Linked DNA regions of Homo sapiens: region 1 is linked to region 2. Evidence: promoter capture Hi-C in 16 types of primary human blood cells and fetal thymus (Javierre and others, 2016). All regions are on one chromosome and are shown on one strand. The core of a region is centred on a gene start or on the middle of the fragment in contact, and the rest is flanking DNA. Distances in the headings are between cores, read along the strand shown. Region 1 overlaps RHEB (Ras homolog, mTORC1 binding). Region 2 holds the start of ZNF783 (zinc finger protein 783).

What was found. Contacts are between HindIII fragments. The CHiCAGO score rates a contact against its expected background, and 5 or more counts as called.
Region 1: a contact is called between a fragment that was not itself captured here and the fragment with the promoter of ZNF783 in region 2, in 1 of 17 cell types (naive CD8 T cells). The highest score is 9.3, in naive CD8 T cells.

What each region holds. Positions count from the first base shown.
Region 1 is chr7:151,515,108-151,518,640 of GRCh38, reverse strand. All of the region lies in intron 1 of RHEB (Ras homolog, mTORC1 binding), which reads left to right. Among named protein-coding and RNA genes, the nearest start is that of RHEB, 3.0 kb to the left of the region's middle. RefSeq lists an enhancer at 566-615. The HindIII fragment of the contact is 1,993 bases long and covers 451-2,443 here.
Region 2 is chr7:149,260,707-149,264,138 of GRCh38, reverse strand. It overlaps ZNF783 (zinc finger protein 783), which reads right to left and starts at 1,943. Exons shown (of 6, transcript NM_001195220.2): 1 at 1,782-1,943. The coding sequence starts at 1,805. It overlaps LOC124901769 (a long non-coding RNA gene), which reads left to right and starts at 1,798. Exons shown (of 2, transcript XR_007060582.1): 1 at 1,798-2,492. RefSeq lists a silencer at 1,476-2,345. The HindIII fragment of the contact is 3,928 bases long and covers 1-2,760 here.

The sequences.
Region 1 (3,533 bases), core at 198-2,697, 2.3 Mb before region 2:
AAGGTGGCTTAGGGTCGGGTTGGGGGGCGGACGGGGTGTTACAGAACGAGCGGTTTTCTGGCCTGTGTGAAACCAGAGCGATTGAACTTAGACACGCTTCAGGGTGAGGCTGTATTGTCTCCCGACATCCGGAAGCCTGGAGAAATTAGTTCATCTTTTCGGGCTGTTTTGAAGTAACTGTCTATAGAAGGCGTGCACCGGGCCACAGTTGAGGGGATGGGGAGGTGAAAGCGAGGGTTCCGAGGCTCCCGTGATTGCGGAACGGGGTGACTATCTGTCATGGGAAGCTTGTACCTGCCTGCCGCTCACTGGATGCACTCCCCAACTGCGCTTTCCACCGCCTGTGCCAGGGTCTGTGCTCTTTGACCAAGATCAGCCACTGCATGCTTACTCATCCTTTTACCACCTCTCCGTCGAGAGCCGGGGGGAAATTAAGGGCTGAAAGAAGCTTGGCTAGAGATGCGGGGTGCCTAGAGTCGTAGGGGAACTCTTGTGCGATGCGGTGCTGAATCCGAGGGGATGCATAGGTGGCAGCTTTAACAGCTGCAGCCAGGAAGTAACCATGAATCAAATGGAGGGGTTCAAAGTCACTAATTGTTCAAATATCAACATGGAACCTGGGATCCAGCCTTTATTGGCAGCCTGAATCCATGCTCTTGTCTCTGTTCTCTTGATTTCCTCCTCTGCATTTTGAGGAGTTGGGACCGCGAGGTGTTCTGGCTCTTGGGTGAGCCTTCCCTAGTCAGTCAAGTAAGTACTTATTGGCAACTATTTGGAAATAGTAGTCCCTGAATAATCACGTTATAGGCAACAAGTACCTCGGCTACCTGATTTCAACCCAAGAGAATGACCTAAAGATCTTGACTGATTTACCCTTTTCAAATGTCGAAATGGTAGCTCTAGTCTTTGGTGAGCAGGGCTAGTTTTATCACTTTTTTTTTTTTTTTTTTGGCTACAGAAGTTCCTTATGTCCAGTTGAAATCCATTCTGTTTTATCTTCCCTCTATTCAGCGTCCTCCTGAGGACGGAGATGTGACAGGCCACCCCTTAGCCTTGTCCTCACAAACTGTTGCTTGTTAAATACTGTGCTAACTTAGTCTCCGGTGGGATACAGGGTCACTTTTAGTCCCTATTTTCTGTCTTCAGTATTTCATATTTCTGCAACCTACCCCACTTCTCCATATTTATTTTCAAGCGTAGTCATATTAAACGATTTTGGAGAGGTTAAGTTGCTCCCAATCTTGTATTTGATTTTTTTTTTTTTTTTTTTCCGAGACGGAGTTTCGCTCTTGTGACCCAGGCTGGAGTGCAATGGCGCGATCTCGGCTCACTGCATCCTCCACGCCCCGGACTCAAGCGATTCTCCTGCCTCAGCCTCCAGAGTAGCTGGCACTACAGGCGTGCACCACTATGCCCGGCTAATTTTGTATTTTTAGTAGAGACGGGTTTCACCACTTGGCCAAACGTCAGGCTTGTCTCAAACGCCTGACCTCAGGTGGTCCTCCCACCTTGGCCTCCCAAAGTGCTGGGATTATAGGCGTGAGCCACCATGCCCAGCCGCATTTGATTTTAAAGTGTATTATGAGCCAGGATATTTTGTAGTATGTGGGGTCTTTTTTAGGGGAAGGAGATTAGGTTTTGCCAGCAGGTTTCTTCTAGTAAGCCACCCTTTTGAGAATTACTCAGCATGCTCACTTCTGGGAGCTTACTGGCATGTTTGCTTGCAAATGGTGGTGCTGTACCAGAGAAATTTGAGTACCTGTGTTTCTAGATTGTGGTATTTTGTGATGCTGAGCTGTTTGTCCTATATTCTGGGGGTAGAGCCACATAAAAAGCCTCCACACCTTTCTTAGAATGTTCTCTTGATTAAATACATTAAGCCAGTTTGACTAGTAGGATACTTGTCATTGTGATTTGTCATGCCACAAACTTTATTTTTAAAGTTGTCTTCAGATAAAACAAAAAAGTGCTATGTTTGTTTAACTAGTTGGCTTTCTTTTTTTTTTTTTTTTTTTTTTGTGACAGAGTCTCACTCTATCACCCAGGCTGGAGTGCAGTGGCGGGATCTGGGCTCACTGCAACCTCTGCTGCCCAGGTTCAACCGATTCTCCTGCCTCAGCCTCCCAAGTAGCTGGGATAACAGGCGCCTGCCACCCCGCCCAGCTAATTTTTGTATTTTTAGTAGAGACTGGGTTTCACCATCTTGGCCAGGATGGTCTTGAACTCCTGACCTCGTGATCCACCTGCCTCGGCCTCCCTAAGTGCTGGGATTACAGGCATGAGTCACTGCACCCAGCCCACTACTTGGCTTTCCGTTTTCTTTTTTTCTTTTTTTTTGAGTGTTGTCAGAACTACCAATAGGTAAAATATAATTCTCAGGTAGTCTATACAATTCTCCCTGCCAGTCCCCTGTACTTTTCCTGGTATTTACAATGTTAAAGCTTTTAAGGACACGTCACCTATAACTCTGGGAGTCTGGCTTTCAGGGAGTGCTTTGTATTAACTGTTGCCGTGATGGCCAAAAGTACCAGCTCCCTGACATTCCGTTATTTCTACCACAACGGAGTAGTCCCGCGATAGGAAGTAACTCAACTTAAAATGGTAGTGTTACGTAAACTGTCTTCAGCCTGGTACATCTTTCACTGGGATTTTACCTGTACAGAGAGCTTTGGTAACCTAGTTTACCATTAGACCATAATTAAAAGCTGGTTGTCATATATAAGCCTCTTACATACAGTTAATAAGAGGGATGGGATCACAGGCATGTGAAAGATCATAGGGGGAAAATGAAACAGCTTTGTGGTTTGGAAGAAGGCAATTCAGCAAAAGTACTCAAATTATTACTTTGTCAAAATGTTTAGGTAGTATTTAGAGTCTTCATGAGGAAAGATGTCATTAAATATTTGGTTGTTCCCAGCAGATTCTGACTTACTGTTTATTTTTTAAGTTAACCTATCATTTGTTGACACTTTTTATTGAAAAATTGAAAGGCAAAACAATATTTGCTATGTATGACATCTACCAGTATGTGAAATTGTATATTCAGGTGCTTAATATTCTGATGTTGTATACTTGTGGGTGGGGGTAGTCCTGAAGTGCCCACTTTGTATTGAAACTTGAAATTACTGTTTTTCAGTCTCATTCATTGTTCTGCACAAGAGCATAATCAGAATTCAGATTTCTGATTATGGCTTTCCAGTGCCAAATGTTATTTTGCTGTCCATATGGGTTATATCTCTCTGTACTTCATCACCCCAAAAAGAAACTCTGTACTCATTAGCAGTCACTCTCCATCCTGCTTCCCTGTCAGCCCCTGGCAACCACTAATCTTTCTGTTTCTATGAATTTACTTACTCTGGACATTTCATATAAATAAGAACATACATATGTGGTCTTCTGGGGCTGGCGTCTTTTACTTAGTATAATGTTTTCAAGGTTCGTTCATGTTGTAGCATATGTCGCTTCTTCCTGTTTAGTGCTGACTAATATTCTGTCATGTGAGTATACCACATTTTTTCTATGCATTTGTCAAT
Region 2 (3,432 bases), core at 694-3,193:
CTTATAAACAACAACAGTGTGATAGGATGGGCTAACAAGAGTCCAGGGCAAATCTGTCCCTTTTGGGGAGTTTTTTGGGATCTCAAGTGCTGCAAGAAGGGAGGAGCAGGTGGACAGGAGTGATCTGAAAGGTAGTGAAGCAGTGAGCCCCAGGCTAGGGGGAGTGGATGATGTCACCTTCTAGGGCCCCCTCTTCCCAGGGAACAGGACTATAAACCTGCAGAATCCTCAACGCTTTTTCTCTCCCTTGCACTCAGGGAACCCAAAAAGAAGCTCAGCACACTCACTAAGAGGAGGGAGAGGAAGTTATACTTTAATAAAAGTATCCAGAAAAATCAAGGTTTCAAAACCTTCACTGAGGTGTATTAATAATAGTAGGTATCATCTATTGAGCCTTTACAAGCGTTTTCCAGTATGTCAAAAATGGCCAAAGGATTATAATCTCCCAATTGGACATACTGCACTATATCAAACCAAGATTCTAAAATCTGCTAAACTGGCCTAACTTATATAGATGAAGATGCCAAAAAAACTGATGTGATTCTTCCTTCTCCAGGAGAAAAATTCTGTATAGGAATACTTATAGTGTATTCTTATGAATAAACTTATTCATATAGATATGTATCTGGACAGATAGATAGATAGATATAAATGAGACAGGCACCTGCGCCTGTAATCCCAGCTACTTGGGATTGGGAGGCTGAGGCAGGAGAATACCTTGAACCCGGGAGGCAGAGGCAGAGGTTGCAGTGAGATGAGATCCCGCCACTACACTCCACCCTGGGTGAGAGTGAGACTGTGTCTAAAAAAAAAATATATATATATATATATATACACACACACACACACACACACACACACACACACACACACGTATATATATATACTTTTTTAATTAAAAAATTTTAAAATGGCCGGGCGCGGTAGCTCTCGTCTGTAATCCCAGCACTTTGGGAGGCCGGGGCGGGCAGATCACGAGGTCAGGGGTTCGAGACCAGCCTGGCCAACATAGTGAAACCCAGTCTCTACCAAAAATAGAAAAATTAGCCAGGCGTGGTAGCAGGCGCCTGTAGTCCCAGCTACTTGGGAGGCTGAGGCAGGAGAATCCCTTGAAGCCGGGAGGCGGAGCTTGCAGTGAGCCGAGATCGTGCCACTGCACTCCATCCAGCATGCGCAACAGAGCGAGACTCCCTCTCAAAAAAAAAAATTAAATAAAATCTGCTACAGTAATCTTTTTTAAAAAAATCTACTATCTCTCTTGTAAACGACACAATCTTTCTCTTTGGCAAAAGTAGAATATGAGGCGTTTTAAAGTGTCTAATTCCAAAATCCCTGCCCCGGCGTGAGGCTCCCGCCTCTAATAGATGCGTGACCCTGGGCCTGTCCCTTCCCATCTCAGCCTCCGCTACTGTCCCGTGGGGCTGGCGGCCCCTGCCCGCCCAGCCTGCTGTAGGGGGGGCCGCGAGGCCTCAAATGGGACAATACTCCTAAGGCGCGGCCTCCTCGTCGCCGAGCGTGACTCTGGGGCCCGGCCTGGCTGAGGCCGCAGATGGGCCGGATCGTCAGCCGCTGACGTCGGGGCCCCGCCCGCCGGGCCTGGCATTTGGGCCGCCCGGTCAATGCCTTCGACGCGGGCTGGGCGATGGGCCGGGGGCAACGAGCGCGGAGGCTGCGCGCAAGGCCCTCTCACCCCGCGGCCTCGCGCGGCCAGAGTCCCTCGCGCGGGCTCACGCGGCGGCGGCCTGGGCCTTCCGGGCGTCCGCGGGGCCGAGGGCGCTTACCCGGGCAGGCGCCGCTTCGGCCATGGCTGCCCGCGTCCCTCGCTGGGTTGCAGTCCCTGGACCCGGCCTGTCGGGCCCGGGGCGGCGCGGCAGCGACGGCGGAAGCGGAGCGGGACCCGCCTAACCTGAGAGCTACTGCCGGGCGGCAGCGAACTGCGTCCCGAGCCACGTGCCCCGCTGGCCCTTTAAAAAAGAGCTGCGCTCGGCGGCCGAGCTTGAGGACGCGCACAGCGCCCCCTGCAGCCCGTAGGACCGCACGCCCGCGGCCGCCGCCCCGCGCCCTCCCGAGGCCTTCAGCGCCCGCGGCGTCCGGGACCCAGGCGCGGCCACCCACCCTCACCCGGGGCGCGGGAGTTGACGCCAGGGCGGGCGTGCCACGGCCTCCAGCGGGGCTACGTCAGGCGTAAGCCACTCCCGGGCCAGCGCGGCGCCCAACCTCTCTCTGCGTCCCACGCGGGAGCCGGGAGGGCTGCGGGAAGGAACCGCGCTGGAAAGTGCGAAACCTCGCGAGGGAAAGCTGCGTGGGGAACGGGGTCGGCCCTCGCCGGGGCTCCAGTCCGGACCGAGACTCTGTTGCAGCGCCTCCCACGCACCACAGAACTGAGTTGGGGAAAGTAAAAAGGATACGTGTGTACCCAGGGAGAAGCCAGGGAAACTTACATGAACGTTTTTAAAGTCTCTTTTAAATTTGACAGAACAAACGTGAAGATGGTAGGATTTTTTTTTTTTTTTTCCTAAGCCTGCCCTCCCCTCCTGAGGACTCTGGGGTCCCTTCCTCCTCCCGGGGCCCGCCTGGTGAAAGTCCTCAGCCACCCACGAGGACCCTTCTGTAGCTTTGGTCCAGGCTGAGATCACAGCAAGTGTGAATCAGTCCATCCCTCATTTAGGCCCTGAGGCATCTTGAATAAACCGCAGGACCCATTTTCCTCGGCCTGTGCTGAGGCATATTGAACTAAATGTGCTGTATGCAGTTGAAGCTTTGTTTTCTGTCTTTTCTGCATTTCCCATTCATCTCACAGTCTTTGTCCAACAAGCTGGCAAACTCTTCCCGCTAGAAATCTGCAGTTTTGTTTCTTTCTGTGTTTGGGTTTGTTTGGGGTTTTTTGGTTTTGGTTTTGTTTTTTCTTTTTTGGGGGGGGGGGGTGAGGGTGAGAAGTTATTTTCACAAATATTTGAGCCAAGCAAAAGCGTGGTCAACTATCAGAAAAAACACAAACTGATATCCTAAGTAAGGTGAACCCCAAAATTTGCGGAAAGGTTAGGACGTGTTACTTTAAGGTAACAAATCAAATAAATATTTGGCATTATTCATTTTGGAAATTCTTGTTGAACTATCCCAATCTAAAACACAAACTGCAAGTATGCACTAAAGACATTAAGAGCATCCCTAGGATCTTATCAGGGATCAGTCCAATCTATTCAGGATTATAAAATACCAGTAAATGGTGACGTTATAGAATAACAGTTAAGGTCCAATGCAAACAGAAAGGGTCAGGAAAATGGGCCAGGAGCCGTGGCTCATGCCTGTAATCCCAGCAGTTTGGGAGGCTGAGGCGGATGGATCACCTGAGGTCAGGAGTTCGAGACCAGCCTGGCCAACATGATGAAACCCCATCTCTACTAATACAAAAAATTAGCTGGGTGTGGTGGT